Linked DNA regions of Homo sapiens: region 2 is linked to region 1. Evidence: promoter capture Hi-C in human tissues and cell types (Jung and others, 2019). All regions are on one chromosome and are shown on one strand. Each heading gives the region's core, a stretch centred on a gene start or on the middle of the fragment in contact. The rest is flanking DNA. Distances are from core to core; before and after follow the strand shown. Region 1 holds the start of NPY (neuropeptide Y). Region 2 has its middle 150 kb from the start of STK31.

Region 1 (5,622 bases), core at 2,078-4,577:
CTCTGGTCCCACCTAACAAAACTCACATCCAAGACCTGAATGGATAAAACTGTCTTTAAATTTTTAATTGTCTCAGAACAAGCTCAAGAACAGTCATAGAAAGACAAAAAAACAAATAACAAGGTAAAATCCACAATATCTGACATCCTATCAAAAATTATCAGGCACACAAAGAAGAAGAAAAATATAAGCCATAATGTGGAGAAAAATCAATCAACCCAAAGTATACAAAAATCACACAGATGTTAGTAGTACAAAAGTTATTATTAATGTATATTCAAGAAGCTAGAGAGAAGAGTGGACACGTTTAGATACGGAAGATATAAAAAAGATTCATTGCTTTATATTGTCCTGTAACTTAAAAAAAAGATTCAAGTTGAAACTCTAGAGATGAAAGCTACCAGGTATAAGGTGCAAAATACACTGGATAGGATTGGCAGTAATCAGATATTACAGAAGAAAACATTAGTGAACTCACAGACATAGCAATAGAGACTATCCAAAATAAAATATGAAGGAAAAAATGAGCAAAACAGAAGCAAAAACAGATCACCAACAAACTGTGGGCCAATATACACTCACCGTCTGACTCAGCCATTCTGGTTTTAAGTATTTTCCAAGAGAATTAAAGGCTTTATGTCCATACAAAGACTTGCATATGAATGTCAAGGCAGCTTTATTCGTAAAAGTTTCAAGTGAAAATAACCAAAAATTCATGAGCAGTAGAATTGATTAAAAATTTTGAAGTATATCATATAATGAAATACTGCCCAGCAATAAAAAAGAATAAACTATTGCTACATTTAACAATGTGAGTGGATTCAAAAATAATGATGCTAAGTGAAAGAAGTCAGACAAAGAGTACCTACCGTGGAACTATATTTATGTGCAATTCTAGAAAACGCAAACAAATCTCTAGTGATAGCAGATCAATGGAGGAGGGGGTGAGGAAGAGGCAAAAGGAAGGAATTACAAAGGTACATGTGGAAATTTGGGGAAGTGATGTATAATCTTCATTTTCTTGGTTTCAGTGATGGCTTCCTGAGCATATAACACACATGCATATGTGTAAGAATATATCCAATTGAATATTTTACACATTTGTAGCTTTGTATATATTCAGCAGTATCTATTCATTCCTTCTGCTTCTTTACCTTAGGTTTAGTCATGAAACCACTGGGTTTCATGTGGTCCAGGTTCTATCTGAATCAAGCTATGAACCTGCTATCAGTAAGACCTCCTAATTGCAAACCACATGGACCTTTACCGGTTATTTGACTTCTCTCGGTCATTACCTTCTCTAGTCTCCACTGATTCACCTCCTTTTGAATCTCAACAAGCTCAACAGTATCTCAATGTTATCTTAACAAAGCTGTTAGAAATAAACAACTTGACTTTGAAACAAAGGAGAGAAATGGCTCAGCAGCTAGGAGAAGATGCAGGGTTGAGTTGCCAACAGTTGGTTTTGTTTGTATTTTGGCCAGGGGATGTGGCTTGGACTGGAGAGAAAGGAGATAAGGATGTAAGCACATGTAGGGCATATCACCCCCTATTTTTTATTCTCTGAATCCTTAACCCTCAGAATAAGTTCTTATTCTTGAGAATCAATGACATTATCTTAAGCTAAATTAATCAAGCCTCCACAGTGTTCTTCTCTCAATAGTGGTGTGGGCCTTCCTAGAAGTAATTTTTCCCAAATTCAGTGATACATTTTAAGTTCAGATTTTAATTGATATGAATCTGTGATACACTCTAAAATAAGATTATTTTATTGAAAAGTGGACTGTAACTTTCCCTTTATCTAGGAAGAGCTCTAAGTTAGAAGATGTTTTGCACTTTTACCGAAGGCTGTGTCTTGTAAGCACCCCCGAGCAACTCTGAGAGCCTTGATTTTTGTGTCCTCAGCATATGTTTGTGTAATACAGAAAGAGAAGCAGTTGCCAAGTGAAAGGGATGTTGGTCTCCAAAATTATAGTTTGATCCCACAAACACACAAACACATACATGCAAAGGATTGTTTGCTTCACGGTTTTTGATATTTAATTCAATGCTGTTGGAACAGCACAAAAACTAAGTGTCAGTTTAACAGAATCACTTGTCCTTTTAGCATTAAAATAACATGGAACTTAATGCTTTAATTTCCCAACATGCCTTTTTATTTAGAAAGATTCAGACTTATATTTCATTTAGAAATAAAATGCCATTTTATTTAGAAAGATACAGGAGCATTCATTCACGGAACTTTCAGATCTCAGTCCACTGCATAAAATCTTGATCCTGTAATAATAGTTTCTGTATCTTGCATATTCATTCAACAGGTTTAACGCGATGAGCAAATTAATGTTCATCGTTTTTAACATGTTTCATCTTAATCAGAACCCACATTCTCAACGTTAATTGAACGTACATAGGACTATACAAGGGTTAGTAAATAAGACAGAAACTGTTGTTCATTTAACCACCGTCACTTTGGACCAAAAAAGAAAAAATATATATTTTTAAAATTGAGCTTAAAAGAGTCTCTAGAAGCTGGAAGCGTGGCTCTTTTTCAGCAAACTGGGGGAATAGGTTTACCGTGTTCCCCCTCTGGGGAATTTTGAGTCGCCACACTCATGTCTCGACCGAGCCTGGCTCGCTGCGTCTGAGCGAGTACTTGAGGAAGGCTGATCTAGAAAAACCAGCTGAGAGAAGGGGCAGAAGCCCCTGAAACCACGGGCGGGGGTGGGGTGGGGAGCGCAGCTTTGGGACCCTCTAGCCGGAGACTTCCGGCAGCTGCCTCCGACTTGTTCTAAGTACAGGAAAAATCTGTGCGCCCAGTTGCCTCACTCCAACAGCGCGCAGTTGTGCCCGGCGAGGATGCCGCGCTAGTCGTGGAGATGCCCCACCACAAAGAGGATTCAGGTGCTTCCTACTCCGGCACCCAGTGGGTTGGTAGTCCTGTTGGCAGGAGACAAGAATCGTCTGGGCTGCTCCTATCTCTGGCAGGACTAGACGGGGCGTGAAGGAAAGAAGGAAAGAAGGAAAGCAGGGATCGGGCACTGCCCGAGGGCAGATACTTGGGCTTTGGTGTTGTCCAGCGCGCTCGGAGTGCGCTGCCTCGCTCACGCGGTCCCAGGCCCCGCTTCTTCAGGCAGTGCCTGGGGCGGGAGGGTTGGGGTGTGGGTGGCTCCCTAAGTCGACACTCGTGCGGCTGCGGTTCCAGCCCCCTCCCCCCGCCACTCAGGGGCGGGAAGTGGCGGGTGGGAGTCACCCAAGCGTGACTGCCCGAGGCCCCTCCTGCCGCGGCGAGGAAGCTCCATAAAAGCCCTGTCGCGACCCGCTCTCTGCACCCCATCCGCTGGCTCTCACCCCTCGGAGACGCTCGCCCGACAGCATAGTACTTGCCGCCCAGCCACGCCCGCGCGCCAGCCACCGTGAGTGCTACGACCCGTCTGTCTAGGGGTGGGAGCGAACGGGGCGCCCGCGAACTTGCTAGAGACGCAGCCTCCCGCTCTGTGGAGCCCTGGGGCCCTGGGATGATCGCGCTCCACTCCCCAGCGGACTATGCCGGCTCCGCGCCCCGACGCGGACCAGCCCTCTTGGCGGCTAAATTCCACTTGTTCCTCTGCTCCCCTCTGATTGTCCACGGCCCTTCTCCCGGGCCCTTCCCGCTGGGCGGTTCTTCTGAGTTACCTTTTAGCAGATATGGAGGGAGAACCCGGGACCGCTATCCCAAGGCAGCTGGCGGTCTCCCTGCGGGTCGCCGCCTTGAGGCCCAGGAAGCGGTGCGCGGTAGGAAGGTTTCCCCGGCAGCGCCATCGAGTGAGGAATCCCTGGAGCTCTAGAGCCCCGCGCCCTGCCACCTCCCTGGATTCTTGGGCTCCAAATCTCTTTGGAGCAATTCTGGCCCAGGGAGCAATTCTCTTTCCCCTTCCCCACCGCAGTCGTCACCCCGAGGTGATCTCTGCTGTCAGCGTTGATCCCCTGAAGCTAGGCAGACCAGAAGTAACAGAGAAGAAACTTTTCTTCCCAGACAAGAGTTTGGGCAAGAAGGGAGAAAAGTGACCCAGCAGGAAGAACTTCCAATTCGGTTTTGAATGCTAAACTGGCGGGGCCCCCACCTTGCACTCTCGCCGCGCGCTTCTTGGTCCCTGAGACTTCGAACGAAGTTGCGCGAAGTTTTCAGGTGGAGCAGAGGGGCAGGTCCCGACCGGACGGCGCCCGGAGCCCGCAAGGTGGTGCTAGCCACTCCTGGGTTCTCTCTGCGGGACTGGGACGAGAGCGGATTGGGGGTCGCGTGTGGTAGCAGGAGGAGGAGCGCGGGGGGCAGAGGAGGGAGGTGCTGCGCGTGGGTGCTCTGAATCCCCAAGCCCGTCCGTTGAGCCTTCTGTGCCTGCAGATGCTAGGTAACAAGCGACTGGGGCTGTCCGGACTGACCCTCGCCCTGTCCCTGCTCGTGTGCCTGGGTGCGCTGGCCGAGGCGTACCCCTCCAAGCCGGACAACCCGGGCGAGGACGCACCAGCGGAGGACATGGCCAGATACTACTCGGCGCTGCGACACTACATCAACCTCATCACCAGGCAGAGGTGGGTGGGACCGCGGGACCGATTCCGGGAGCGCCAGTGCCTGCACACCAGGAGATCCTGGGGATGTTAGGGAAAGGGATTGTTTCTTTTCCTTCGCTCTATCCCAGGGCAGGACAGTATCAGGCACTTAGTCAGCTCTAGGTAAATGTTTGTACAGGGCACACTCTACACAAAATGGGTACCTTCCATTTTGTGCAACTACAGTCACAGAGTCGTGATCCCCAGATTCAGGTTCCCCAGGCTGGTAGGCTGGCAATCTCCTCTCACTCACCTCTTATGGTTTGTTGTGGTTCTTACGGCAGTGGGGCCCGGTCCAGAAATCTCGAAAGTACCCAGTGAAAGGGGCAAGAATGCGCCAGAGAAATGCTGTAGGGGGAAACGCTAGCAAGGTGTCTAGGAGAAACAGAACGACCACCAAAGAAAACCAAACCAAGGAGTAAACTGCAGGGTTGCCACAGACATTGTCAGACTTTCCGGCCTGCCCAGGGCTAATTGAATGACAGTATTTAGAAAAAGACAAATAGAGCTATTTTCTTTTCTTCTTCACTGTGTTTTTTTTGCAGTCTCACTCCCATATTTGAAAATTCTAGTCCCAATAATTAGAGATTTAGCCTGAAAACAGTTTATCTAAAATGCAGAGGTCTCCCTATTTTATAGCTGGTGAATTCTGAAAAGAAAGTGCCCACTTGGTATTTCATTAAGAAGAAACTTACGTTGGTCCAGTAACTTTAGGATGAATTCAGGGATTACATGGAATCTGAGAAATTGTAAACTTTATTCTGAACATTCCGAAAGTCAAAATGAAATGCCATATTTTCACTCTCAACATTGACAATTAAGGGAAAAATCAAATCCAAACTATTTTACAAATTACATAGGATTTAAATTTTGTTTTCAAAATTGGTTGATCTTAGTTCTAAATCATTTAATATCTTATTTTAATTACTGAGATTAAATGATTTTAGTCATTTGACCGTATCTAAAGGATAAGCCCTTTAGAAGCATTAATGTTAGTTAACATGTTTAAATTATATGTTTAAAGTATTGTGGGGTTTA
Region 2 (5,622 bases), core at 1,863-4,362, 430 kb before region 1:
GTGCAAACAGCTCGCACATTTGAGCAGACCAATTATTAGGCAATTTTCCTAACTCTGCTTCTACAAGAGTTTCCTTATCACTTACTGAATACCCATTGTGTCTTTTTCCCTTAATCGCCTGGGAGGAAGCATCTATAGTCCTGTCCTGAAGACAGTTCCTCCTAGGTCTGGTTGGACCTTTGTATGGTAATTAATTAAGATTTAGATCCCCTGTTAGGAAACCTGCTAGGTTAAGGATTTTTGATAGGAAGGCTACAGGTTGTCAGTGGCCTCAGTGCTTTTGGGCTATGCCCTTGTTTACACTGACAACAAGGTGGTATTGGAGTGTTATAGGGTCACAGAGAAGACCTTCAATTATGAATTACAGGTTTTAAGTTTACCCTGGCTGTCAAAGGAATACGGTACACTGTTTTTTCTTTACTACTTCCATCTTTGTTTCTCTTTGACTTCTTTATCTCTCTCTGACTCCCCTTTGTCTGTCTCTTCCTCTGTCTTTGACTTTCTGTCTCTCTCTTTCTCTCTCTCTGACTCCCTCTTTGTCTCTTCCTCTCTCTCTCTCCTTCTGTCTTTGACTTTCTGTCTGTCTGTCTCTTCCTCTCTCTTTTTTCCTCCTTTGTCTCTGTCTCTTCCTCTTTCTCTCTTTCTGTCTCTTTCTGTCTTTCCTTTCTGCTGGTCTTTCCCAGCCTCTGCCAGCCACTTATGCTGCTGTTTTCTCCTCTCCTTCCCCTTTTTGATGGCTTCAGCAGTGTGAGACTGCCACCTCCTCCTTGGGTTTTTGCACCACATGCAATAACTCCATGATTTCCTTGTGGTATTTAATGGGGGTTCCCCCAGAGGTTAGGAACTCCCTTTCTTTCCATATTGCAGCATGGGCATGTAGGATTAGATAAGCATACTTGCTATCTCTATACACGTTTATTCTTCTTCCCTTTCCCAGTTCTAAGGCTCAGGTAAGTTCCACTAGTTCTGCTAACTGGGCACTGGTCCCTGGGGGAAGGGGCTTACTTTCAAGTATGGTTACATCACTAACTATGGCATAAACTGCCCATTGTATCCCATTCTCTACAAATGAATTTTCGTCAGTATATAGGTTAAGGTCAGGATTAGCTAAGGGGACTTCTAAGAGATCATCTCGGGTGGCATAAGTCTGGACTATAATTTGTTGGCAGTTATGCTCAATTGGTTCCCCATCCTCTGGGAGAAAAGTGGCAGGGTTGAGGGCTGCACATATGTGTATGTGAAGCACCAGTCCCTCAAGGAATAGCGCCTGATATCTAAGCAGGTGGTTGTCTGATAGCCATAAACTTCCTTTGGCACCTAGTATGCCATTTACATCGTGAGTAGTCCAGACAGTGAGATCCTTTCCTTGTATTATTTTGATAGCCTCTGACACTAAGACGGCCACAGCTGCAACTACCTGTAAACAGTGAGGCCAGCCTTTTGCTACTACATCAGTTTCCTTACTTAGGTTATGTCACTGGTTGTGGAGTTGTCCCGCGAGTCTGAGAAAGGACTCCAAGAGCTATCCCTGCTCTCTCTGTGACATATAAAGAGAAGTTTTGTCCTGTGGGAAGGCTTAAAGCTGGAGCTTGTACTAGGGCCTGCTTTAAAGTTTTGAAGGCTGTTTCTGCCTCTGGTTCCCATTCCACTAGATGAGTATTTGCCCTCTGGGTCTTCTTGATTAGAGTATAGAGAGGCCTGGCTATCTCGCTGTATCCAGGGATCCATAGTCAGCAAAAGCTGGTGATTCCAAGGAACCTCTGCAGCTGTTTAAATGTCTTAAGGTGAGGATAAGCCAGTATAGGCTGTATTCATTCCTTGATGAGGGCCCTGGTCCCTCTGGCTAAGATTAGGCATAGATATTTGACCTGCTGTAGGCAAAGCTGGGCCTTCGATCTAGACGCTTGTACCCTTGATTAGCTAGAAAGTTCAAGAGAGCTAGAGTAGCCTGCTGGCATGAGGCTTCCGAACTGGTAGCCAAAAGTAAATCATCCACATACTGAAGGACCAGAGTGCCTGGACTTGAGAAGTGGCCTAGATCTTGGGCTAGTGCCTGACCAAACAGATGAGGGCTATCCCTAAACCCTTGGGGCAAGCCGTCCACATAAGTTGGGACATGTGGTCTGTGGGATCCTCAAAGGCAAAGAGAAACTGGGAGTCAGAGTGCAGGGGAATACAGAAGAAGGCATCCTTGAGGTTCAGAACAGTGAACCATTCTGCTTCCTCTGGTATTTGAGAGAGAAAGGTATAGGGGTTGGGTACAATTGGATATAGAGGAATTACTGCCTCATTGATGAGTCTAAGATCCTACACTAGTCTCCACTGACTGTTCGGTTTTTGTACTCCTAGAATTGGGGTGTTGCAGGGACTGCCGCATTTCCTTACTAAGCCTTGAGCTTTTAAATGTTTAACAATATTCTGTAATCCTTTATGAGCTTCAGGCCTTAAGGGATATTTCCTTTGATAAAGAAAAGTGGTGGGATCTTTTAGCCTGATTTGGACTGGGCGGGCATTTTTTCCCTTCCAAATTGTCCTTCCAATGCCCAGACTTTAGGGTTGATTCCCTCCTCAAGTAGGGGACAACAAATGGGTAACTTGTTCCCTATATTCATGTAATAATAGCTCCAGCTTTGGCTAATATATTCCTCCCTAATAAGGGTGTGGGACTTTCAGGCATAACAAGAAAGGCATGTGAAAAGAGCAAAGTCTCCCAATTACAACTGAGAAGGTGGGAGAAATACCTGGTTACAGGCTGTCCCAGGATTCCTCGGATGGTAACAGACCTTGAGGAGAGTTGTCCAGGATAGGAGATTAACACTGAGAAGGCCGTGCCAGTGTCCAGGAGGAAGTCAATTTCCTGGCCCTCAATGGTTAAACATACCTGGGGCTCAGTGAGGGTGATGACATGAGCTGGTGCTTGCCCTGGGCACCCTCAGTCCTGTTGTTGGATCATCTGGTTGGGGGCTTCTGGCCCAGAGAATCATTGCACTCTGGGGCAGTGCACCTTCCAGTGATTGCCTTGGCATAGCGGACATGGACAAGGGTGTGGCTTGTTTCTCATTGGACAATCTTTTTTATAGTGTCCTTGTAACCCACACTGATAAGCCATACCGGGTGATTGGCCTGCTCCATTTTCTGTCCTCTCTGAACCACCAAGGTTTGTTTGTCTGAGGGCCATGACTAAGGCCGTGGCCTTTCTCTGATCTCGCTTTTCCTTTTGGGCCATTCCTCTTAGTCCCTATTATAGAACACCAAGGTTGCCAGGTTTAATAATGCCTCCAGATTTTGTTCAGGGCCCAGGGCTCACTTTTGGAGCTTTCTCCTGATGTCTGCGGCTGATTGGGTAATAAACTTATCTTTTAGAATCAACTGACCCTCGAGTGAGTCGGGTGACAGGGGAGTATATTTTCTTAAGGCCTCCTGTAGCAGCTCGAGGAAGGCAGAAGGATTTTCTTGCTTTCCCTGAGTTATGGTAGTCATCATTGAGTATTTCATGGGTTTTCCCCAATTCTCCTTAGTCCTTCTAGAACACAGGTCAACAGATGTTTACGACTCCAGTCCTCATGATCTGAGTTGAGGTCCCAGTATGGAGATGGCTTGCTGACCGGTAGGGAATTTTCCCTTTTTTCGGCTGTCATTTTGTCATTTACTTGACTAAGATACCAGGTATCTCCAAACTTTTGGGCTGCAGCTAAAGCCGCATTCTTTTCATTAAAGGCCAGGGTTTGATCTAACAATAGCATGACATCTCTCCAAATGAGATTGAAGGTTTGCCCTAGACCCTGTAGCACATCTCTGTACCTATCAGGATCATCTGAAAACTGCCCTAGGTCTGCCTGCTTTAAATTAGAGCGGGAGAAGGGGACATGTACCTGGGTTGGGCCAAGTTCCCCTCCTCCTACAACTTGAAGGGGACATAACTGATAGCCCAGGGGTTTTTCTAGTCCTTTGGAGATTTCTTTGCTTGTTTCCTTCTGGGCAGGGGAGATTAGAGGAGGCTTATCATTAATAGGAAGGGGAGCTATAGGGAGGCTAGGATATGGGGGTAAGCTGAGAGGTCCTCCTGTGGATGTAAATTACAAGCTTTGCATAGTTGTGGATTCTCCTTCAATGAAAAGAAAGCTTGGACATAAGGTATTTCACTCCATTTGCCTTCCCTCTTACAGAAAACGTCAGACTGCAGGATAGTGTTGTAATTTATACTTCCCTCAGGTGGCCATTTTTCCCCATCAGAGAGAATACTGGGGCCAAGCCATAGTGCAGAAAAAAATGAGCTGCCTCTTTTTCAGGATTTGCAGGTCAAATTGGTCCCAATGGCTTAGGATGCATTTCAAGGGTGAGCTGTTGATGCCTGAGTGTTTCCCATCTGAAAGACAAAACTGCCCACGGTTTTGGTTTGTTTGTTTCTCCCCCTGCCTAAGAACCCGCAATGGTCCCTGGACCCTGCTGATCAGAATAGTTGCACTCACCAATGAAGCAGCAGAAACACCTCTTGCCCAATAACCCACAATGGTGCAGCCCCTGGACCCTGCTGATTGGAATAGTTGTGCTCACCGATGCAGCAGCAGAAACACCTCTTGCCTAAGAACCTGCAATGGTCCCTGGACCCTGCTGATCAGAATAGTTGCACTCACCGACACAGCAGCAGAAACACTAGTTTTTCCTCCTAGACCCCAAGGAGGCCCAAGGAAGGTTGGATTTAGTGGCCCTTACTGACACATTCTCAAAAACCTGTTAGAGTCCTAAGCATTTTCCTGTTAGTATTGGGACCTTACCACTGACCTATAAAGATGTTATTTCCAAAAAATGAAGTGGAGGGTCATACCCAGAGGGAGGGAAGGGATCTCCAGGGTTGAAAGAGTGATACCTTTTGTTCTCACTTATGTGAATAGGAAAGATACCATTTCTGAAGCTCCCCACATCCTAGCTTCAAGAATAGCTTTTGTTAGGCCTGCTAGTCTGAGGAGGGATCCTAAAATTCCAGATAGTCCCCCCTATAATGGGGCTTTGGGCAAAAATTATGCCTTTCTGATTGGTGAGCCTGGGTGCCTAAAGAAGGGAACAGAGTCCTGAGGTTTATACTGGAAATCATTCTTACAGGAGAAACTAGAAAAGCACAAGAGACAGGGAGTGGTTTTTAGAAGCAGGACTAGCCTTGGAGAAGAGAGGTGAGAGGAAGTTTGTCTGAGAGGCATTAGGACCCAGGAGGCAAGGGTCAGCATAGATAGGTTAGATGGTCGAGTCTCACTTGGGCGACATGACTTTGAGAGTTCTGCTCTTGGCCGCAGGGTCAACCAACTTGTTAGGACCTGGGAGCTGAATGGCTTTCCTCTCTGTTGACCCTCAGCTCAGCCCAGAAGTACAGGAAAAGCAGAAGCTTGTTCCAGGCACACCAACGCTCCCAACTCCAAATAGTTGGGGGTTGTTATAGAGTCCTTTACCAGAAAGCCTGACACCCATGTCTTTAGTCTGGCGGCTGTGCTAGTCACTTTTAACTGACTGACAGGTGCCCGGTATTTAGCCTCCGAATTCTAAGGAAAAATAGGACAGAATAGCAAGCAAAAGGGGTCCGATGGTACTCACTGCTTGGTGGTAGTCCCTTCGTGGTTGCCAAAATGTGTC

What was found. Contacts are between HindIII fragments. The study calls those that stand out against the background at their distance.
Region 2: a fragment that was not itself captured here is called in contact with the fragment with the promoter of NPY in region 1 in 1 of the 25 tissues and cell types used here (H1 embryonic stem cells).

The regions. Positions count from the first base shown.
Region 1 is chr7:24,280,863-24,286,484 of GRCh38, forward strand. It overlaps NPY (neuropeptide Y), which reads left to right and starts at 3,328. Exons shown (of 4, transcript NM_000905.4): 1 at 3,328-3,413; 2 at 4,379-4,566. The coding sequence starts at 4,379. The region is part of intron 2 of LOC107986777 (a long non-coding RNA gene); the gene reads right to left. The HindIII fragment of the contact is 14,633 bases long and covers 1-5,622 here.
Region 2 is chr7:23,856,000-23,861,621 of GRCh38, forward strand. No RefSeq gene overlaps it. Among named protein-coding and RNA genes, the nearest start is that of STK31, 150 kb to the left of the region's middle. The HindIII fragment of the contact is 3,274 bases long and covers 1,476-4,749 here.